Regions from separate parts of the Homo sapiens genome. Here all the other regions are linked to region 1. The links are contacts of gene promoters, found by promoter capture Hi-C in blood cells and fetal thymus (Javierre and others, 2016). All regions are on one chromosome and are shown on one strand. Each heading gives the region's core, a stretch centred on a gene start or on the middle of the fragment in contact. The rest is flanking DNA. Distances are from core to core; before and after follow the strand shown. Region 1 holds the start of TROAP (trophinin associated protein). Region 2 overlaps TMBIM6 (transmembrane BAX inhibitor motif containing 6). Region 3 holds the start of FMNL3 (formin like 3). Region 4 holds the start of DDN (dendrin). Region 5 overlaps PRPF40B (pre-mRNA processing factor 40B). Region 6 overlaps KMT2D (lysine methyltransferase 2D). Region 7 holds the start of FAM186B (family with sequence similarity 186 member B).

Region 1 (3,150 bases), core at 651-3,150:
TTGGAGTTGCAGTGGTGCGATCTCGGCTCACCTCAACCTCCGCCTCCTGGGTTCAAGCGATTCTCCTGCCTCAGCCTCCTGAGTAGCTGGGATTACAGGCATGAGCCACCAAGTCCGGCTAATTTTTGTGTTTTTAGTAGAGACGGTTTTCTCCATGTTGGTCAGCCTGGTCTTGAACTCCCAACCTCAGGTGATCCCCCTGCCTTGGCCTCCCAGAGTGCTGGGATTACAGGCGTGAGCCACCGCGCACAGCCTGAAAGTAGATGAATTTTAAAGATGCATACAATTAGTAAAGATACCTTACGTATCTTTAAATTTTTTTTTATAGAAACAGGATCTTGCTACACTGTCTAGGCTGGTCTGGAACTCCTGGCCTCAAGCGATCCACCTGGGCCATCCAAAGTGCTGGGAAAGACGCCTGTAACCCCAGGCTAGACAACGTAGCCAGATCTTGTCTCTACAAAAAAACACAAAAATTAGCTGGTGGCAGGCACCTGTAGTCCCAGCTACTTGAGAGGCTGAGGTTCCCACCTCAGGAGGCCGAGGCTGCGGTGAGCTGAGATCGCACCACTGCACTCCAGCCTGGGCGACAGAGTGAGACCCTGTCCCAAAAATGCATAAATAGTAAAACTAGTGAGAGTGAATGAGAGATGGGATATGTAAAGGGAGTGGGAGGAGTTAAGGAGTAACTCCTCGGTTTCTGGCTTGTGTAAGAATAACTTCTGTGATTGGTGGGGAAAATCCACCAGAGTTCTGTTAAGTGTTGTTCATTTCCTGTCCCCCGTTAGGGGTTACCCCTTCCATCTTAAGCAGGATATTCTAGGATCTCTCAGTCTCACAGCCTTGCCCACCAATAACCAGCAGGTGAGCCCCCTCTCCCCAGACCTCTAGATCTGCAAAAGGCAACCTGGAGGCAAGGAAATCCCCAGCTGTGAGTAGCCATTCAATTCTGGTGCTGTGGTAACTGAGTTCAAAAACAATGAGTCTTGTTACCTACCCGTAAAATGAAAGACACCTCATCAGACACCTCACTGGATTGTGAGGCTCCAAGGAGCACACATATTGTTAGGCTCAGTTCGATTCCCTCCAGCCCTCTCCGCCCGTTTGAAGGCAGTTCCTTATCCCGGAGACAACGTACAGATGTTCTCTCTTTCCCTCTTTATTTTTTTTAAGACAGGGTCTCTGTTGCCCAGGCTGGAGTGCAGTGGCGCGACCACAGCTCACTACAGCCTCAACCTCCTGGGCTCAACACGATCCTCCTGCCTCAGCCTCCAGAGCGGCTGGGACTACAAGCGCGCACCACTGCACAGGGATTATTATTATTATTTTATTATTTTGTAGAGAAACGGGTGGGAGTGGTCTCGCTATGTTGCCCAGGCTGGTCTCAAACTCAGCTCAAGAGATCCTCCCGCCTCGGCGTCCCAAAGTGTTGGGATTACAGGCGCCTGCCACCGCGCCCGGACGCAGATATTTTCTATGGGCATCTGGAATGGCGTCCCCAAAGCTTGGCGCCGTGCTATGGTCAAGCCGGGTCGGGGGCTCGGGCCAGCCTTCAACACCGTTGGCAGCAATCGGAACGATCAACTGTACCCTCAGTACCGCGACCTCGCCCGGTCCTGCCAATGGCCGGCCCCTAGCCGGTCCTGAGGCCTCGCGAGAGCTCCCGTGGCTACGCCTTCCCCGGCCTCGGAACGGCCCCATCCTTCCTCTTTCCCCGCCTCCCAGCGGCGCTCCACTCTCGGATTGGCTGATTGATCCGAGTCAGTTTTTTTCCTCGCCAGAAAGCGGTTCGACAATTGGTCCTTCTTTTGGCCCCTCCTGCGATGCCCGCGGATTGGACGGCTGAGTCTGGCTACGCGGGCCTCCGCGGGAGCGCGACCGGGCCAATCAAGAGCTTGGCGTATTTTACAAACTGAGAAAGTAGCTCCAGCAGCACCCGAGAGGGTCAGGAGAAAAGCGGAGGAAGCTGGGTAGGCCCTGAGGGGCCTCGGTAAGGTAAGGCACGGGGGTCTTGAAGGGAACGAAGGCTGCTGGGTTCATAGGGAGGAGGGCAGTTTGGGGCCCGAGGGCGAAAGAGTAGGCTCGGGGTGTCTGGAGATAGCACCCATAAGAGCGGTCTTGCAGGCGCCGGGGGCTTGTGGGCGCGTGGATTAGGGCGGAGGTATCAGGGATGGCAGGACAGGTGCCCCGAGAACTGGTTGATCTTTGATCTTAGATTCTGCCTGCCTTCTTCCCCGTCTCAATTGTAGCCATCATGACCACCCGGCAAGCCACGAAGGATCCCCTCCTCCGGGGTGTATCTCCTACCCCTAGCAAGATTCCGGTACGCTCTCAGAAACGCACGCCTTTCCCCACTGTTACATCGTGCGCCGTGGACCAGGAGAACCAAGATCCAAGGGTAAGAGGGGCCTAATGGGGGAAGACAGTAGTCACACCAGTAATGCACCCCAACACTAAACCTCACCTTTTTGTCCCCGCTCCCTCCCCTAGAGATGGGTGCAGAAACCACCGCTCAATATTCAACGCCCCCTCGTTGATTCAGCAGGCCCCAGGCCGAAAGCCAGGCACCAGGCAGAGACATCACAAAGATTGGTGGGGATCAGTCAGCCTCGGAACCCCTTGGAAGAGCTCAGGCCTAGCCCTAGGGGTCAAAATGTGGGGCCTGGGCCCCCTGCCCAGACAGGTACCTGTTGGAGCCATGGTAACACGGCCTCCATGGCTGAGTAGGGGACTAGGAAGGGTAAAAGTGGGGTTTTGGGGTTTTGCACTCACTCCTGCTGTCTCCTACTTACTGTGATAGTCCTGGTCCCAGCTCCTGGAAAGCTCTTTGCTCTTAGAAGATCTCCCTTTCCTCCAGCAAAATGTCATCTCGCCAGGTGCCATGGCTTGTACCTGTAATCACAGCTACTCAGGAGGCTGAAGCAGGAGGATCACTGGAGGCCAGGAGTTGGAGACCAGCCTGGATGACAGAGGGAGATCCCATCTCTTTAAAAAATAAATAAATAAATAAATAATAAATATCACTTCTTCTGAAGCCTTTTCCAGTTCCCCATGTCACAATCAGTTGCTCTGTGTTCTCCTAATACTTTGCAGCACTTCTTTTATAACATGTATATACCTTGGCTTGAGTCTGTTACCTGTCTATAGTTT
Region 2 (3,150 bases), core at 127-2,626, 420 kb after region 1:
ACTTGAACCTTGACCTCTCCTGGCTTAGGTGATCCACCCCAGCCTCCTGAGTAGCTAGGACCACAGGTGGACGTCACCAGCTCCAGCTAATTTTTGTATTTTTTGTGGAGATGGGGTATCACCATGTTGCCCAGGCTTACCAACTCCAGAACTCAAGCGATTTATTTATTTATTATTATTATTATGTTTTTTTTTTGAGACAGTCTCACTCCCTTACCCAAGCTGGAGTGCAGTGGTGCAATCTCGGCTCACTGCAACCTCCGCCTCCCTGGTGCATTCAATTCTCATGCCTCAGCCTCCTAAGCAGCTGAGATGACAGGCGCGCACCACCATGCCCAGCTAATTTTTGTATTTTTAGTAGAGACGGGCTTTTGCCAAGTTGTCCAGCCTGGTCTCGAACTCCACACCTCAAGCGATTCGCCCGCCTTGACCTCCCAAATTGCTAGGATTACAGGTGTAATCCTTTCCTAAAGAAAAAGAGTCATCTCTCCTGAAGAATAAGAAAAGGTAAAATTAATCTAGATACTTAGCATTTTCAAGTTATTTTCCCTGATTATAGATATAGTTCGCGCTCTTTATACAAATGCTGAAAATGCAGAAAAATGTCATAGGAATCAATGTATGTTTTGGGAGGGTTTTTTTGTTTTAAAGATTTGTTTTCACCTATGGCTGAAACTTTTGAAAGCTTATATAAATGAAAGCTTATTTTTCTACTGTAGGATGGAATAGTAAAAAGAGCACTAGACTATAGTGGTCAGAAGACCCCAAATCTGGTTCTGGCTCTGCTATTTAACTTTCTAATGTTGGTCAAATCAATACTAATGTTTGTTTTAGTACTTTACGTTGATTTCACACAGATTTTCTTATTGGCATTCAGTAGAGCAGGTATTGATCATCATCGTTATCTTACAGATGAGGAAGCTGAAATAACCTTAGGTAAAATGATTTTTCCTAGGTTATATAGTAGAAAGTGGCAGCACTTGTGACACCAAATCCTGTCCTCTTGCCACTATTACATTGCCTTTTTGAACTTAAAAAAGATGTATAAAATGGGCCTAATCTTTCCCTTTCCTTGTGGGTTGATGTGTGAGGATTGAAGGTGATACATATATAAAAGCACCTTAAAAGTTATAAATTTTATATAAATATAGTCAGGAGTATTAGTATAGAAGGTACTACTGCTGGCCTGACGAGTTTCATTTTATTTCGTAAACTGCCCAAGGGTATTAATTTTCTCTAGAGAAACCATTGAATATTCTGATGCTCTAACTTCTGATTTTTTTTCCTTTACTACTTTGACCTGGTTGTAGAATCTGGTAGAAATGTCTTCTACCACTCTGTTTTGTTCCCCCAGAGTTTCTAACCAAACTGCATGCAGCCCTTCGTAGTTTTTATACACATTTTGTTTTCCAAAGATGGTGTTCGAGACCAAGGAGAGAAAGGCTGTCTCCTTGACTTAAAGGTTACCTAAGTGACCCCTTGAGGTAGGTTCCACTCTGAGCCAGCTGGGGAATGTTGATTTGAGGTTACAGCACTCTTGATCTGATAATAGGGTCTAAATTTGCTCTAGAGACTTTGTAGTGCTTAAATCTTGGGGATAGCTGAGCTGAACCAGATGCAAGCTCTGCCCTCAGGGTGAGAAGTTTCTGCACAATTAACTGGAATCCAAAACACGTGAAAAAGGAGCTTCACCAGTGAGGGTGAAGTGGGTATGCTGTTTGTCTTAATTTATGTGTGCTCCCCATTTGGGCTAAATATGGTGTTATTAGGGAGGGATTACTGGTTTATACTGGAAGAAGATTATGTATTTAGGATTTTGGGGCCTTCTTAGGATTCAGTATCTGTCAAACGTTATAGAGAGGGAGATGAAGTAGTGTCAACGTTTGGTACAAAAAATAATTTACTGAAGGCAGTAGGCATTTCATCTCCAGTTACTGGTTTGGTTTTGAGGCAGCCCCCTGGAGGAGATGGATTCAGTATTAGCTAATCCAGGGATTTGGGTCCAAGTTAAGGGAGAGGCGGGGACATCTAGGGTGTCCACCTGGGAAGATCAAAGCTTGGTCCTAGTTGAATGAAACAATTCCTTGGATGGTTCCGAAACTGAACTGACCTACCTCCTGGGAGTGGCAGGGAAAGCATCAAGCTTTTGCGCATTTACTTCATCAAATCCTTTACCATATCAGATTATCACTTAGTGGCTATTAGGCTGTCTCAAAATGTCCATGGCCCTGTGGGACAAGAGAGATAGTATAAATGTGCTAGAAGAAAGGTATGCCATTTAAACAAAAGTACAGACGGGCCCCAATTTATGATGATTGGACTTAATGATTTTTTACTTTATAATGATGCAAAAGTGCTACCTGTTTGCTAGAAACTGTACTTCAGGCCAGGCATGGTGGCTCATGCCTGTAATCCCAGCACTTTGGGAGGCCGAGGTGGGCAGATCACTTGAGGTCAGGAGTTTGAGACCAGCCTGGCCAACATGGCAAAACCCTGTATCTACTTAAAATACAAAAATTAGCTGGGCATGGTGGCACACACCTGTAATCCCAGCTACTTGGGAGGCTGAGGCATGATAATCACTTGAACCCAGGAGGCAGAGGTTGCAGTGAGCTGAGATCGTGCCACTGCACTCCAGCCTGGGCAACAGAGCGAGACTCTGTCTCAAAAAAAAAAACCCAGCACATTTAGAATTTCCATCTTTTCCCAGACTAGGGATATCTGGTATGATATTTTCACATGAGATATTTAACACTTTATTATAAAGTAGGCTTTGCGTTAGATAGTTTTGCCCAACTTCAGACTAATGTAAGCGTTCTGGGCACATTTAAGGTAAGGTAGGCTAGGCTTAAGCTATAATGTTTGGTAGGTTATATGTAGTAAGTGCATAAATTACGATACTTTCAGTTTACAATGGGATTATTGGGATGTAACTTCATTGTAAATCGAGCATCTATACTTTTACCAGTAATGAGATTTTTCAAGTGCCTTTATGTTTCAGTTTATAATTTTCTTTTCTCTCTTTTTTTTTTTTTCTTTTTTGAGACAGAGTCTCACTCTGTCGCCCAGGCTGGAGTGCAGTGGTGCAATCTCGGCTCACTGCAACCTCCGCCTCCTGGGTTCAAGCCATTCTCCTGCCTCAGCCTCCCA
Region 3 (3,150 bases), core at 470-2,969, 380 kb after region 1:
CGATCCCCCGAGGAGGCTGGGGGAAATGCAGAGGGCCACAGGATGTATGGCCCACATCCCTTTGGCCCTTCGCAGAGCTGGCGGGCAGAGAGGTGCCAGCGACACCACTTCCCCTTGGAACACTGTGGACCCTCTTTGAGCCAGCTCTGGTGCCAGTGGGCTGATGTCAGATTCTCTACCATCGGAGAGGCCAAGATCTCTAGACAGCTCCACTGTTGCCAACAGATCTAATCTCCTTATTCCAAGGCAGATGAAATCCAATAAGGCTGCTAAGTCCACAACTTATCCCTCCTGATGGGCAGAGGCAAAGGCAGAGTCGGCCATACCAACAATAACGCCAGAATTATTACTGCTTCTTAGAAAACTCTTTGGGGAAGTGAGAACTATTTCCCCAAATTTCTCAAAGATTAACCCCGGTTTACCAATGTTTTCGCTCTGCAAAACTTCATTTTCAGCGCAAACATATTTTCTGGCTCCTTCCCGGTGATACCAGCTCAGAACCTCTCGCTTCATAGAGCCACTGACATCAATGTCCAATTCCCACACCAAAGAAGAATCCCAAAGTCAGCTCTAAAAACCCATTTATACAGACCGTTTGAAACCCACAGAAAGACTAAAAAGCACAGGCTAAACAACACAAACCAGTCACTATGGCTTAACGTGAAAAGGGGGGGAGGAGGCGGGATGGTTTGTGTATTGTTTCACTTGGAGAAATACCCCAGTGAAATGGTTTATCCACATGTTCAGCCTTTCAGGCAAATCCACTCTAACTTAGCAGGATGCCTGCAGGCCGTTCTGAAAATAAGCAGAATGGCATACTCTTTATTCCACCCCCTTCAGGAGCTGCCAGCCGCCTCCCCATCCCCCTCTCCCCCCAAACATCTGGTCTGGGCTGGGAGTGGGACCCACTCCCTGGGAAGCCTCCATGTTCGCAGGAGAGGCGGTGTCCCCACTCAGGGAAGCCTGCTGAGGAGCGAGCCGGCCGCGCTTCTGAATTCCCCCCACCCGCGAGAGGCTCCGGGCTGAGAATGCTAGGGACGGGGAGCCTGGCGAAGAAGCGGGGAAACGGGAAAAGGGCAGCAGAAGGGGGAGGAAGAAGGAGGGAGAAGCCTGGTTCCTAGGACGGTCCCGAACTGGGGACTTCTCCTAAGGGTCCAGCGGTGGAGGCGTCGGTCCCGAGATCCCCGACGGGGCTGTCCGGGCCGGCCAGCGGCTGCTCAGAGGTTCCTGGGAAGACACTGGAGGCCGGGATCCGTTCGGGACCCCGACTGAAAGGGTGGGCGGGACGGGGGCCCAGCACAAAGTCCCAGCCCGGGCGTCGGGACCTGAGGGGCGGTACGCGGGGGAAGGGGCTGGGCTCAGCTCTCACCAGCACCAGGGCGAACCTTTCCTCCAGCTCACAGGGCTCAGGCATCGGCATCTTGCCGGGCGGCAGCAACAACGGGACAGAGGGGGGCTCTCCCGGGACCCCCTCGGCGCTCTCCAGGTTGCCCATCGCGGCGGGGCCCCCTCAGGGGCCTCGGCCCCCCACCTCCACGCTCCGGAGCTTTCGGCTCCGCGGCTCCGACCAGGCTCCTCCCTCAGCGCCGGCTCCCCGAGTCCCGACTCCTCGGCCCCGTCGAGGGCGCCGGGGGTTCCCTGGAGTCCCGCTGGCGGGGGCGCGCGGCGAGGGCGGAGGCAGCGTAGCGGACAGCCGCACCGAAGCAAGGCGGACGGAGGCGGCCGGCTCTTGCTCACACCCGCCGCCTCGCCGCGCTCGGCGCGCCGCCCGGGCGCTGCCCCTCCCCGCCCCCCGCGCTCTTTCCCTTCCCCCGCCAACCTCGCTTCCTCCCACCCACACCCGGCCGAGACTCGGGCTTCCCCCGCGAGCGCCGACTGCAGCCCGCGCGACGCGCGCCCCATTCATGCAGGCCCCGCCTCCCGCCCAGAGGCCTCACAGGCGGCCCGGCCCGCCCCACCTGCGCCCGATTGACGGCCGCGTCTGCCAATCACAGCGCCTCCCGCCCTTGACGGCCTCGTGCCGGGCGCCGAGCGCTCCCTGGCGGCCTCAGCCGGCATCGAATCACCGCGGTTCCCAGAGGGCGTGAGGGGCTGGCGTGGACACACCGGGAATGGACCGTACCCTTTTTCAAAAGGAACTCATGATGTATACAAGTAAGTAAAATATTATACAAGGCATGGCGTACAAAACTAACTACAAGAGAAGTAGAAACAAGCAGGATACTCAGAAGAGGGAGAGAGATAGTACCTGTTAAGAGTCGGGGTGAGGGAGATCATAGTTGGACCAGGCATTGAGGGATGAGGAAGCCCTTACCCGACAGAGGCAGGGGAAAAAACGTTTGGGAGGAGAGAAGCTTAACCATCTGGCTGCGTGTGAAAATGGAGAGGCGGGAGAAGAACGCTGTTCTGGGCTCAGTCGGCGGCTGGGTCGTTGACATTTGCGGTGGAAATTTGTTGTCTAGCCGCCATCTTCTTCCAGTGAGAGCACCCCCTTTTCTTTTAGGAAACCACCTCTCCCCTCTTCTCAGTCTAAATGGAGCTGAATTTTATCCCCAGTTCCAAAGGACCGCATGACCCAGGCCCAGTCAGTCACAACATTTTCCTCCTCTACCCATGGACACTGTTTTAGGGATTGTCACTTGACCCAAGCCCAGACAATATGATATATCCAAGGCTTTCTCTGAAACAATCAGGAAAGAGGCACTCACTCTCTCTCCATTTAGGCTGCAAAATTATTAGAATGTAAACCTGCAGCCGCTGGTGGCCGTCTTATCATCACCTGTAACACATCAAGCCTGCTTGAGAATGAAGCCAGCGCAGAGGAGAGAAAAGCTATGAGACAGGACAAAATTCTAATGACATGCCAAGAACCTGGATCTAACCATGCCTGAAGTTATCACCTAGATTTTTAATTCATTTATTCAACAAATATTTATTTTAGAAAGTTTATTCTATGCCAGATACTATTCTGGGCATTGAAGGTACATCTGCGAACAAACAGGATATACATTGTGTCCTCTTGGAATTCACAATCTGTGTAGAAGGAAAGGTAGACAATAAACTAGACGAGTAAAATGTATAGATGTTAGTGATCAGTGTTAATAAAAATAAAACTGAAAGGTGATAGAGATGGAAGAGGCATTAAGATTT
Region 4 (3,150 bases), core at 405-2,904, 320 kb before region 1:
GCATTTGGGAAACCAGATCTGTTCTCCTTCTTTCCCTTCCCTCGAGCCCTTGAGGTGGTGCCTGGATCTGGGAGCGGGATGCGGGGCACAGGGAGCCGCAGTTGCAGACCCCGCAGGAGCTATCTCGGTGCCTGCGCTCCCTGTAGCTTTGGCTTGGGGATGGCTGTCGCTACCACTGTTCAGGTCAGCAGCAGCCAGCCCCAGGCTTTTCTCCACGACCCCCTTGCCGGGCTCTGGCCTTGCTCTGGCCGCTCCACAGCCTGGGGATCCCCCCAAGAGACCTTGCCCCTGTCGGAGACCCCAAGCCCCGAGGACGTCCCGGTAGATCCGAGGATCCAGCCTCTTCTTTGTGCGCCCTCCGTCTGTCCTGGCTGGAGTCGCAGCTGGGGCTGATGAAGTGGGCACCTGAGAGTTCCCGGGGCCTCTCTTAGTCCCCAAGGTCCTATGGGGGCCTTCGTAAGAAGGTGGAGCCACGTAGGGTGGCGGCCGGTCCCAGCGGCGTCGTGGGGCGGTCCCGGCAGAACCTCTCAGCAGCAGGTGAGCCTCGTAGCTTGGGGGCCCGGGCCGCCGACCTCCCCAGGGCCCCGCCCACGCCGACCCTGGGTCGCTCTGCGGCTGCGCGGATGGACGGGGCGCTCGCCCCACAGGCGCCAGGCGCTCCGGCCGCAAGGGAGCAGGGAGCCCTGCCAGCTGGGCCACCCGAGGGGCGTTGCGGGGCTCCGGGCGGGGTCGACCCGGGGGGCTCCGTCGGGCCCCACCAGCCTTGCGCCTTTTTCGCTCGGTCTCCTTGGCCTCCCGCTCCTGCGACGCCGCTTTCCTTTTCTCTTGCTCCCGAGCTCGGACCTCGGCCAGGGGCCCCGCCCGCCAGTTGGTCGCCTCCTGCAGCACCCTGGAGGCCCAGGGCCGGCGGGGCGGCGGCTGTGGGGATCCCGGGCGCGGCCCACACCTGGGACAATGAGCAGGAACCCAGGTGAGCAGTTTGTGGGGGAAGGGAGCCGAGGTCCGGGGAGCTGGGAGCACTGGAGACCACTTGGGGCAGCCATGTGAAGGGGTGTGTGTGAGTGTGTGCGCGTGTGCACGTGCGTATATGTTAGGACTGAAGTCGAAGCGGGACTCCTCGCCATCTCTCCATGCACACTTTAACAGCGTCTGCCCCATCTCACCTCCTGCCCTTTCTCACACCCACTTCTGTTCCCCCAAACAACGGGATGAGTCAGGCCCCAGCCCTCGGGAGCGGGCAGAGGTGGAAGGCGTGGGAAAGAGAAGGGGGACCAGCAGTGCTCGCTGGTGCCTGCGGGGAGGTCCGGACCCCACTCCCCGCCCCACCACTCTCTTCCCCTCACCCCTGCTTCACTCACGTGCGGTTCTGGAACCCGCGAGCCCAGTGGCTGGCCTGGAAGTCCATGGGCTGTCGAGAAGGGGCGCGGCGACTATAATGACAGGAAATAGTCTTCACTTCTATCACCAATAGCTTGGACTTCTGCACCCAGAGGCAGCTGCCAGACTCCTCATCCTGGAGCTCCCGGGGGCTGTCAGGCCCCTCGGAGAACAGTGGGCCATCCAGCATCCTGCCCCACCCCACCCCGGCCCCCCACCCTCCCACCCGCCCCAGGAGCCCCCTCCCAGCCCAGGGAGCCGGCGCCCACTGCAGAGCCGCGGGCCCGGGGACTGGGAACTATATATACCCGGGCACACGTGTGTGTGCCTGTCTCTGTGTGTGCGCGCGCATGTGACACCGCGCGGACTGCTCCGCGCTGCTACCTCCCCCATGTGCACGGCCGCCCCCTGGGGCCCGGGATTGGACGCCCCTTCCCACTGCTGTTGTCCCCCAAGCCTGATGGGATCGCACGAGTGGGCGGGGGAGGGACTTATGATTCTTGCCAAGCTGACAGTGCCCCCTCCCCCGCCCCTATTTCTTCAACCTTCCTGCCGTTTTAACCCTTTACTCTCCTGCTTGTCAGGTTGCCTGACCACCAGGGTTCTGCCCCTGGCTTCCTGCCTCAGATTTCAGTTTCCCCAACATAGAGTGATGAGATTGGAACTCAAGGTCTCTGCCTGCCACTCTGCTGGTTTCCATGGGGCTGGGGTGCAGGAGGGGCTGGCCCACGGCTGGGGGGCTATTTTTAGCGGCAGTGGCTGTTCGGGTGCAGAGATGAGATGAGTAACCAGCTCCCATGCGGTGGAGAGAGGAGGCGGTGGCTTTTACCAAGCTTTTGTGCGACTCTGAGGGAGAGCTGCCTTCCCTAAGCTCAAAAAGGGTGACCCCTACACCCGTATCTCCTTGTCAGCTCAGTGCTGCAGCCTAGGACTGCTGGTACAGCAGGACACAGGCGTCTGCCTTGGCCACCCAAGCTGCCCTACCAGTTCCATTCTACATGTTTGTCCTTGGGCAGCCAGGGAGCCCTCCCACAGCAGCAGGCTTTCACCTCCAATCCAGAAGCCAGGATTTGGGGGTTATATTGTTCTGTGCCCACACAGCCTGCCCAGCTTTATGGAGGACAGAGTAAGTGCTTATGCACTCTCACCCTTCCAGAGGGGGATGGAGGAGAAATGATGTGTTTGCTTGGCAAAACTAATCCCCTAGCAACTGAAATGATAAAAGTGGCCTTTATTTTTTTCAATGTAGAACTCCCCCTCACCACCACCACAATGCCTAGTTCACTCAGTCCCCACCTTAAGTGGTGCTCCAGATGCTCACCTTTTGGGCTGCCTCTGTCCTGGGGGGCTGTTGCTTATATCCACATGATCCCTCCTCCTAAGCTTATACCAGGTGTCCCCTGATTCACCATGGTAATGTTAGTGGCAGCACAGCCCACGCCAACCCTTCCATGCAGAGACTTAGCAACCATGCCTGGCAACCATGGCAGCAGCTTCAGTGGAGGGGAGCAGTGCAGAGAGAGGGGAGAGTGTGTGGGGCATGGTTCCTCGGGAAGAAGGGATAATTTGCCTCTCTGGAGAGGAATAGGTAAGAATAGAAGCTTGTGAGTCTCCCAAATTTCATCCCTTGTCTCTCCCTCAGCTTCATCCTCACACTGAGACGGATAGGTTGGGTTTTAGAGGGAAATGGGAGAAGCAAGAGTTCCCAATTAGTTTTCCACTAATGTACATGGAGCCCTTTGGGTCCAGACCCTTCCTTTTAAGGGGATGGGG
Region 5 (3,150 bases), core at 331-2,830, 310 kb after region 1:
GCAAACAGACCTGTTTCATGTGGTAGGAGCTTTGCTTTTAAGGGAGGAGGGCTAGAGGGCAGATTGGATCCAGTCCCAGTTCTGTCCCTAACCAGTGGTGGCTCCTTGGACAGATTATTCCCTGAAAAAGGGGGATACCTTGGGTGACTGCCAGAGTCTCCTCCAGTTCTGACATTCTATGTTCCCTGAATAACTACTAGACCTAACTTACCAGTGGCCCCCTACTGTTTTGTAGGACTTGCCAAGACCATTTAGTCATTCAGTTAACACATACTTATTAGCACCTAGTTTGTACCCATAGATGGTGGTAAGGAAAACACAATGGGAACTGGATATGAGGTGAGCAAAAACAGATGAAGTCCCTGCCCTTCAGTGTTTTCAGTCTAGTAGGGGCCACGGATATTATATTTCATTAATTCTGAGACTCATATTTGAACATTTGTCAAGTCAGGATGCATCTTCAAATTGACAGGATATTATAATTTAATTGGCAGCATTTGTTTTTTATTCATGCCAAATAGAAAAATAATATAATCAGGATTATACAAATAACTATAAAATTCTAATGGATAATTGCCGAAGGAGAAGGTACATGGTGTTGTACAAGTATATAAAAGCGGGCTCTGACTAGTTCAGGGAGTTGGGAAAAGCTTTCGTGAAGAAATGATTGGTAGATGTGAAGTGTAGTAGGCAAGGTGTGTGGGGTTGGCAGGGCCAACCCAGTTTTCTCAGGCAAAGGTGGATGCCTGAGGTGGGAGAGCTGAGAGAAGGTGAGTAGGGCTGGAACTGAGACCCAGGAGCTCAGCATGGGGGAGATTGGCAAGGTAGCTGGGTAGCAGACCCCCTCATAGTACTGGGTAGGGGGTTTACTATTTACCCTAAGAGCAGTGGGAAGCCATTGAAGAGTTTTAAGCAGGGGGCTAACAGTCTGAGGTGCACTTTGAAGAGCTTGTTATAGCTGCTGATTGGAGTGGATGTGGGGAAAACAGTTGGGAGGCCACTGCAATTAGATGAAAAAAGATGGTGGCTTGGGCAAGATGGGTGGTGGAAAAGGAAATGGAGAGAAATGGATAGATTCAAGAAATCTTGAGGAGGTAAAGTTAACAAGACTTGGTGATTTATTGGCAAGGAAGAGGGAGTTGTGGAGAGTGACTCATAGGTTTCCATTTGGACAATTGAATGGTGTGGTGCCAGTCTCTGAGACGCTTCTGAGGCTCCCCTGGAGCCTGGTAGGACCCAAAGATGTTAGAGAGGCTCCTGAGGCAGCTTGAGATGGGAAAGTGTGACACAGAAAATTGTATTTCCTCCACTATTGATTAGTTTCTGACTTCCCATGCTGAGGAAAGCGTCAGGGGCAAGAGCAAGTCTGAATACAGAACTAAAGCAGTTGAGCACTTAGAAAAGATGAGTCACATTGGAGAGGTTTAGCTCATACCCTTTTCTTCTTAGGACAAGATGAAGGACAGTTTGTTGTTGTTGTTGTTGTTTTGTCTTTTTGAGAGTGTCTCACTCTGTCACCCAGGCTGGAGTGCAGTGGTGCAGTCTCAGCTCAATGCAACCTCCGCCTCCCAGGTTCAAGCAGTTCTCGTGCCTCAGCCTCCCCAGTAGCTGAGACTACAGGCGTGTGCCACCACACCTGGCTAATTTTTGTATTTTTAGTAGAGGTTTCACCATGTTGGCCAAGCTGGTCTCGAACTCCTTACCTCAGGTGATCTGCCCGCTTGGCCTCCCAAAGTGCTGGGATTACAGGCGTGAACCACCGCACCAGGCCAGGAACAGTTTTTTTTTTTTTTTTTTGGAGACGAAATCTCGCTCTGTCGCCCAGGCTGGAGTTGGAGTGCAGTGGCGCCTCGGCTCACTGCAAACTCCGCCTCCTGGGTTCACCTCATTCTCCCACCTCTCCCGAGTAGCTGGGACTAAAGGTGCCTGCCACCACGCCTGGCTAATTTTGTTTTTGTATTTTTAGTAGAGACAGGATTTCACCGTGTTGGCCAGGATGGCCTCGATCTCCTGACCTCATGATCTGCCCTCCTTGGCCTCCCAAAGTGCTGGGATTACAGGTGTGAGCCACCGTGCCCAGCCAGGAACAGATATTTTAAAGGCAGACATGAAGGGCGTTTTTAAATGCTGAGCATTCTCAACATAGGGGAAATTGGCAGCAGTGAGGTACCTTCTCTTCAGCCAGATACCACCTTTCCCCGGGATTCCTCCCTATCACCCCCTAACTTTCAGGCAAAGAGGCAGAAGGGCTGGGCCCTTTAGCTGCATCTCCAAGCCTCGGTTCACTTACAGTGAGTTTGTTTGTTTTTGAATGGGCAATATAGTCATATGGCTGCGTATTCAAAAGATACAAAAGCCATACAGGGAAAAGTCTCCCCTTTATCTCTGTCCCTTTCTACCATTTCTTGTGTATCATCTTTTGTCTCTGACTTTTATACAAATGATAAAAGTTTGCTGCACCTTGCTTTCTTTCCCACTTGTTAATACATCTTAGAGATCATATCGAGACAATAAGCTTCTTCATTCTTGTTTATAACTGTATAGCACTGCATTTTATGTGTATATATAATTTCATAGCTCCTTACTGGTGGCTATTTAGGCTGATTCCAATCTTCTGTTTTTACAAATAATACTGAAATGAAAACCTTAAACATACAGCATTTTGGCCATGTAGGGCTATACCTATAAAATTAATTTTTAGAAGTAGAAGGTTCTATATAGAGATTTGTTCTGTTTGTTCTTCGTTCGTTCAATATTTGCTGAATACCTATTATGTGCCAGATGCTGGTAGGTACCAGGAATACAGCTTCCAACAAGTCAGATATGATCCCTGTCTTCATGGAATGTTATTACACTCTTGTTGGGGAAAACATATCCAGGCAAACATAATAATTACAAAATTATGTACATGAGGAAACTAAAAAGGGGATCAGATAGAGAAATAGGAAGGAGCTACTTTAAATACAGTCAGGAAGTTGTCTTAAAATAAGTGATACTTAAGCTGAGAACTAAAGGATGGGATGCAGACAGCCATTAGGGGTAGGACAGGGCAACCTAAGCTGTTCAAAGCCTACATCCACAGGGAGATAGTTCAGGATTTGTAGAGGAGGGGATGGACACCAAAAAGGGGATGGAGATAAAGCCAAAGAG
Region 6 (3,150 bases), core at 355-2,854, 300 kb before region 1:
TATATATTTCATAAAATTTCACCAGTTTACCCATTACCTCCCCAGGGTGCCCAAGATAATTCTGTCCTATATCCCAAGTGCATCTGAGCAGGTTGGGAGAGGAGGAAAAGGATACCCTACTAATACCTGCATGCCCTCTAATTAGGAAGTCTAAGAGTGATTCCCCATTTTCTCCACGGGAACTCTGATCTGTATCCTAAATCCTCATAATGGGACCAGAGGATCCCTGTCAACACCCACACCCACATCCCTTGGCTCCAGCATCACAAGCTCACCGTTTGTAGTGTGTGAGGATTTTAGGCTCTGATCGGGCACAGCCAGTGGGGTTGATCATGAGTGGCAGCTCCATAAGGGGGTGGCGCCCATAGCGGAATAAATAGTTTTGACAGCTCTCCACCCCGGGCAGCTGTGGGCACAGTTCATACTCACCTTAGCCTGAGTTTTTTTGGGGTTAGGCCAAAGTTCTCAGTGCCCGCCAAGCCCCCCAGCTCCCAGCCCCTTCCTTACTGATTCAGCTATGCGAAGCACGGCATGCACCGTCAGCCCAAAGAGCTCCTCGCCCTTCAGATACTCAGGGAAGAGTCGCAGCATGTCAGCCTCTTTTCTCATGGCAGCCACAGGCTCAATGATGCGATTCCACACGGCTAAGAAGCAGGGAAGAGAGCAGTCCTCAGAGGCAACTTCTGCTCACTGACCTCCAGTCCCTAACCCCAATCCAGAACTGCAGTTTTCTGAGGCCTTCAAGCCTCCCTATCATGAAGTTGTGTTGGTCTTCCAGATCCTCTCTTGGCCTCCTAGTCTCACTCTCTCTTAAGAAGCAGGAGGTTTCCAACCCCAAGGGGTCATCACAGAGCCTTGAGATACAAACCCAGGGCCCAGGAGACCCAGCATAGGCCATGGAAGGTCCCTAGTGAAAGAGCAGGCATGCTTTGGAGTTGGAAAGACTTGGGTTCAGGTTCTAGTACTGGTCATGAGACCTTGAGCCAAATACAGTCACGTGCAGCTTAACAACATTTCATTCAATGAGGAATCATATATACAACAGTGGTCTGGTAAGATTATAATACTGTACTGTATTTTTACTGTATCTTTTCTATGTCTAGATGCACATACTTACCGTATGTTACAACTGCCTACAGTATTCAGTACAGTTACATGCTGTACAGATTTGTAGCCTAGGAGCAATGGGGTATACCGCAGAGCCTAGGTGTGTAGTATGCTATGCCATCTAGGTTTGTGTAGTACACTCTATGAAGTTCACACAATGACAAAATCACCTAACAATGCATTTCTCAGAATGTATCCCTGTCATTTAGCAATGCACGACTGTACTGAAATCTGAGACTCAGTTTCTTTATGAACAAACTGGGCATAATCGTAGTATAATACTTACCTCATAGGGTTGTATGAACAAAATAAACTACACAAATCACTTAGCTTAGTTTGTGGCTCACAGTACACACTCAAAAAAAGGTACCTGCTCTTACTGTTATTTTATCATTAACACTAAAACTAAAATCAAAATAATTCTGATTTCGTCCAGGGAAAAACAACCCCAAGGAACTTGGTTAGGATTAGGTTGGGTGAGGCAGATGATAGTCTCAGAACTGTTTCCTTTTGTTCCACTGGGGATAGCAACAGAACTAGAATATGTGAGATTAGACCAGCAAAATATTTTCAACTACAAGGGAATTTAGGGTGACAAGAGAGGCTCAAACACTTTCACTGGGAGTTTTCAAGAGACCCCCTGCCTGCCTGAGGTGGGGGAAGGAGGATCATTCACATAGAAGCTACAGGTCCTCTTATAGACATTGTAACAGTGACCCTGGGAGAAACTTTTCCCATTCCATATTATCCATTTCAAGGGCCCACTGCTCACCCTGGGGAGAGGCGTCAGTGAAGACCAGGTCCTCCAGGCCCTGCTCGATGACTTTGATTACAAACTCCGGCCGCCCGTTGTTCTCACCAATAGAACAGCGATAGCAGCAGCGACGATTGTTGGTGCGGAGGCTCCAATAGATGCGCGTGGCCTCGTAGCCCACGGGATAGAGGGCAGTGGCACTATGAAAGTCAGCCATCTGGTGAGGCAGCAGCTGTCCGATGGCGTGGAACACAAGGCCCCCCACACGGAACATGTGCAGCCGTTCTCCCCGCTGAATGATGCTAGCGATTTGCTTCACCTCGTCCCGCTCAATGTAGACCCGCCGGAAGACAGCAAAAGAGCTCAGCTCTTGCTCACAGGGCCCCTTGATCTTATGCATTGGACACAGCATGGTCTTGTCCTTGAAGAACATGCACTTGGCACGGATGGCACAAGCAAAATGGTAGACATTGGGGCAACGCATGCGATTGCAGCTGCTGGTGGCACCAGTTCGCTGGCACAGGGAGCACTTGGTTAGCAGTCCTCGGTGCAGGGCAACCTCCACATTCATCAGTGCCCCGCCCTGGGTCTCATACACCTCCGTGGACCAAAGGGCACAGTTGAGGTGCACCCACAGGTCCAGGTCCAGGTTCAGCAGACGGGCAGGCCCATCAGTGGCCCCGTCACCCTCCTCATGACAGAAACAGCAGCGACGCATGTCTCGCGGTACCTTGTCAGGTCGCAAGGCTGTGCCAAGCTGCTCCATAAACTCTGCCACTTCCCGCTCATCCTCCTGCCGCCCACTGCCCTTCTGGATGGTCAGCAGCAGCCGAAGCCGCTTCCAGCGCACTCCTTTCCATTTCTTGAGGCGAGGAGGACGGGAATCTTCACCTTCTTCAGGGGGCCGGGCACGGGGCTTGGGTCGGGCTGATTCAGGGGATGAGGCCAGTGGCAGAGGTGAGGGGACGGGTGGCTCAGCCAAGGGTTCGGTGGGAAGTTCAACCAAGGGCTCAGTAGGGGGACTGGCAGGAGAAGGTGCCAAGGGGGAAGGGGGCGGGGAGGGTTCTTCAGGAGGTGGGGCCGAGAGCTGTCGCACATCCAGATTGGAGACATTGTAGGTATAGCTGTGCTGAGTGGGTGGCTCTGGGGCGGGGCTCTCCTGTAGGAGGGTGCCCTGTATCATTAGTGCCAGCTCCTCATCTAACTAGCTCCCTCCTTCCCCTCACCCATATGCCACCCTCCCAAAAGGCCTCCACATTCTTTGCCCTAGACAGCCTCTTTTTTCTTTT
Region 7 (3,150 bases), core at 223-2,722, 280 kb after region 1:
CTGCCCAGGCACAGCTCCTCTGGTAACTGCCAAACACCAGGTTCCAACTGATCCTCTTTTCCCCAGTGACATCATCAGTTTGATTAGAAGAATTAGGAGATGAGACTCCCCACTATCTAGCTTTTTGTCCATTACCTAACATATATTTACTTGACTTGTTGCCTTTTCTTTTTTTTTTTTTTTTTTTGAGACGGAGTCTCCCTCTGTAGCCCAGGCTGGAGTGCAGTGGTGTGATCTCGGTCACTGCAACCTCCACTTCCTGGGTTCAAGTGATTCTCCTGGCTCAGCCTCCTGAGTAGCTGGGATTACAGGTGCGTGCCACCACGCCTGGCTAATTTATTTTTTGTATTTTTAGTAAAGACGGGGTTTCACTGTGTTAGCGAGGATGGTCTCGATCTCCTGACCTCGTGATCCACCCACCTTAGCCTCCCAAAGTGCTGGGATTACAGGTGTGAGCCACCGTGCCCGGCCTACTTGTTGCTTTTTAAAAATTACTAAATGTTATGCTCCCAAACAAAACATTAATGTCTACAAATAAGAAAAAGCAATTAGCAAAAGTTATTTTCCTGAATAAAATATTTTAAATTTGTAAAAATTAGAGCCAATCAATAACCAAATGGAAGCCAGGCTCAGTGGCTCACGCCTGTAATCCCAACAATTTGGGAGGCTGAGGTGGGAGGATCACTTGAGCCCAGGAGTTTGAGACCAGCCTGGGCAACATGGTGAGAGCCTAGCTCTACAAAAAAATTTAAAAAATAGCCAGGCATGGTGGCGCATGCCTGGGATCCCAACTACTTGAGAGGTTGAGATGGGAGGATCACTTGAGCCCAGGAGGTCAAGGCTGCAGTGAGCCATGTTCACGCCACTACACCCCAGCCTAGGTGATAGATACCCTGACACACACACACACACACACACACACACACACACACACACAAACATACAGAGGGAGGAACATCCCATAATGCTAAAGATGTCAATTAATAAGGAGAACATAATTCTAAATGTGTATATACCTAATAACATTGCTTCAAAATACATGAAGTAAAAAGCTTCCAGAACTGAAAGGAGGAATAGGTAAATCCAAAATTATAGTTGGAGATTCCAGCACTTCTCTTGCAGGAGTTGATAGAAGTAGCAAAAAATAAAAAGTATAGAGGTTTTGAAAAATACTATCAACCAACTTGACTCCATTGACAGTCATAGAACACTTCACCCAACAACAGGACACATATTATTCCCTACGCATATGGAACAATGATCATATAAACCATAATTTGGGCCATAAAACAAGTATCAATTACCCTAAGAAGTCTAAAATAATACAAAATATGTTCTCTGACCACTATGGTATTAAACTATAAATCAATAATTGAGAGATCTTTGGAAAATTCCCAAATATTTTACAAATTAAGCAACATACTTCCATATAACCCTGAGTCAAAAAAGAAATCACAGGGAAAGTTATGAAATACTTTGAACCGAGCAAAAATAGAAACATATCACAATTTTGAGGATGCTGCCAAATCAGTGCTTAGAGGAAAAAACTAGAAAAGGAAGAACAAAAAAACCCAAAATAAGCAGAAGGAAGGAAATAATAAGAATAAGAATAGAGACCAATAGAAAACAAACAAAAATAGAAGAAAATCAATGCAACTAAAATCTGATGTTTTGAAAAGATTAATGCAATTGATAAAACTCTAGCCATATTTACCAGGAAGAAAAGAGAGAAGACAAGCTAACAATATGAAGAATAAGAGACTACAGACTCTACAGTGGGAATAATATGAGAGAGCAATATGAAAAACCTTTATGCCAATAAAGTTGGTAAATTAGATGAAATGGGCAAATTCTTTAACATACGTAACCTATCGATGCTCACTAAAGAAAAAAAAAGCTTTGAATATCCGTAAATCTACTAAAGAAATTGGATTCATAATATAAAAAACCTTTCCCTCAAAGAAAACTCCAGCCCCAGATAGTTTAATTGGTGAGTTCTGCCAAACATTTAAGAAAAAAAAGATACGGTTCTATAAAAACTCTTTCAAAAAATTGAATAGTAAAGAACACTTCTCAAATCATTTTATGAGGTTAGCATTATTTTTATTTTATTTTTTAATTTTTTCTGAGACAGAGTCTTACTCTGTTGCCCAGGCCAGAGTGCAGTGGCGTGATCTCGGCTCACTGCAACCTCCACCTCCTGGGTTCAAGTGATTCTCCCACCTCAGCCTCCCTAGCAGCTGAGACTACAGGTGCGTGCCACCACGCGCAGCTAATTTTTGTATTTTTAGTAGAGATGGGGTTTCACCATGTTGGTCAGGCTGCTCTCAAACTCCTGACCCCAGGTGATCCACCCACCTTGGCCTCCCAAAGTGCTGGGATTACAGGCATCAGCCACCGCACCCAGCTGAGGTTAGCATTATCTTGGTACCAAAACCAGAAAAACATGACAAGAAAAGAAAAAAAAGTACTACAGACTAATATTGCTCACAAATATAGACATAAAAGAAAATGAATTGATTGGGAGGCTGAAACAAGAGGATTGCTTGACTGCAGGAGCTGAAGTCCAGCCTGGGCAACTTAGCAAGACTTCATACCTTAAAAAAAAAAAAAAAGTTGGCCGGGTGCGGTGGCTCATGCCTGTAATCCCAGCACTTTGGGAGCCTGAGGCGGGTGGATCACTTGAGGTCAGGAGTTCAAGATGAGCCTGGCCAACATGGTGAAACCTTGTCTCTACTAAAAACATAAAAATTAGCTGGGTGTGGTGGTGTGCACCTGTAATCCCAGCTACTCTGGAAGCTGAGGCAGGAGAATTGCTTGAACCCAGGAGTCCTGGGTTGCAGTGAGCTGAGATCATATCACTGTACTCCAGCCTGAGTGACAGAGCAAGACTCCGTCTCCAAAAAAAAAAAAAAAACCAAAAACCTTTTTTTTCCCCAAGATGGCAGATTTGGGGCTGTTAGTGTGCCTCAGTCACTTGGAAATTGCAAGGTAGTGCATAAAGATCAACTCTGTGGGCTTTAATTCAAGAAAGAAAATGGGAATCCAACAGAATCATGAAGAACACCCTAGGTCTCAGGGAGGAAAACAAAGGCAAACAGCCCCCGTGATGGCATTTGGCTCATAAAAGTGAGTGAAGCCCCAGTACAT

The links. The method cuts DNA at HindIII sites, captures the fragments that hold promoters and counts their contacts. A CHiCAGO score of 5 or more calls a contact.
Region 2: a fragment that was not itself captured here is called in contact with the fragment with the promoter of TROAP in region 1 in 2 of 17 cell types (endothelial precursors and erythroblasts); the score reaches 6.4 in endothelial precursors.
Region 3: the fragment with the promoter of FMNL3 here is called in contact with the fragment with the promoter of TROAP in region 1 in 1 of 17 cell types (endothelial precursors); the score reaches 8.7 in endothelial precursors.
Region 4: a contact is called between the fragment with the promoter of DDN here and the fragment with the promoter of TROAP in region 1, in 1 of 17 cell types (neutrophils). The highest score is 5.1, in neutrophils.
Region 5: a contact is called between a fragment that was not itself captured here and the fragment with the promoter of TROAP in region 1, in 2 of 17 cell types (endothelial precursors and M0 macrophages). The highest score is 9.3, in endothelial precursors.
Region 6: a contact is called between a fragment that was not itself captured here and the fragment with the promoter of TROAP in region 1, in 1 of 17 cell types (neutrophils). The highest score is 7.2, in neutrophils.
Region 7: a contact is called between a fragment that was not itself captured here and the fragment with the promoter of TROAP in region 1, in 2 of 17 cell types (endothelial precursors and M0 macrophages). The highest score is 11.1, in endothelial precursors.

The regions. Positions count from the first base shown.
Region 1 is chr12:49,321,355-49,324,504 of GRCh38, forward strand. It overlaps TROAP (trophinin associated protein), which reads left to right and starts at 1,901. Exons shown (of 15, transcript NM_005480.4): 1 at 1,901-1,995; 2 at 2,250-2,398; 3 at 2,491-2,683. The coding sequence starts at 2,255. TROAP-AS1 (TROAP and PRPH antisense RNA 1) reads right to left here. Exons shown (of 8, transcript NR_120449.1): 1 at 3,138-3,150; 2 at 2,793-2,985. RefSeq lists enhancers at 614-833, 1,975-2,124. The HindIII fragment of the contact is 3,639 bases long and covers 1,503-3,150 here.
Region 2 is chr12:49,743,059-49,746,208 of GRCh38, forward strand. All of the region lies in intron 1 of TMBIM6 (transmembrane BAX inhibitor motif containing 6), which reads left to right. Among named protein-coding and RNA genes, the nearest start is that of TMBIM6, 3.1 kb to the left of the region's middle. The HindIII fragment of the contact is 1,355 bases long and covers 700-2,054 here.
Region 3 is chr12:49,705,686-49,708,835 of GRCh38, forward strand. FMNL3 (formin like 3) reads right to left here and starts at 1,720. Exons shown (of 26, transcript NM_175736.5): 1 at 1,370-1,720. The coding sequence starts at 1,495. It overlaps LOC124902929 (a long non-coding RNA gene), which reads left to right and starts at 2,041. Exons shown (of 3, transcript XR_007063299.1): 1 at 2,041-2,154. RefSeq lists a silencer at 1,364-2,133 and an enhancer at 2,154-2,303. The HindIII fragment of the contact is 3,771 bases long and covers 1-2,352 here.
Region 4 is chr12:48,997,721-49,000,870 of GRCh38, forward strand. It overlaps DDN (dendrin), which reads right to left and starts at 1,655. Exons shown (of 2, transcript NM_015086.2): 1 at 1,359-1,655; 2 at 1-946. The coding sequence starts at 1,567. It overlaps DDN-AS1 (DDN and PRKAG1 antisense RNA 1), which reads left to right and starts at 627. Exons shown (of 2, transcript NR_147179.1): 1 at 627-970. RefSeq lists enhancers at 287-356, 2,026-2,320 and silencers at 477-936, 1,586-1,880. The HindIII fragment of the contact is 4,772 bases long and covers 1-2,208 here.
Region 5 is chr12:49,626,784-49,629,933 of GRCh38, forward strand. The region is part of intron 1 of PRPF40B (pre-mRNA processing factor 40B); the gene reads left to right. Among named protein-coding and RNA genes, the nearest start is that of PRPF40B, 4.8 kb to the left of the region's middle. The HindIII fragment of the contact is 1,865 bases long and covers 649-2,513 here.
Region 6 is chr12:49,024,303-49,027,452 of GRCh38, forward strand. It overlaps KMT2D (lysine methyltransferase 2D), which reads right to left. Exons shown (of 55, transcript NM_003482.4): 49 at 1,880-3,020; 50 at 508-644; 51 at 276-406. Among named protein-coding and RNA genes, the nearest start is that of PRKAG1, 7.1 kb to the left of the region's middle. The HindIII fragment of the contact is 8,267 bases long and covers 1-3,150 here.
Region 7 is chr12:49,605,591-49,608,740 of GRCh38, forward strand. It overlaps FAM186B (family with sequence similarity 186 member B), which reads right to left and starts at 49. Exons shown (of 7, transcript NM_032130.3): 1 at 1-49. The HindIII fragment of the contact is 845 bases long and covers 1,051-1,895 here.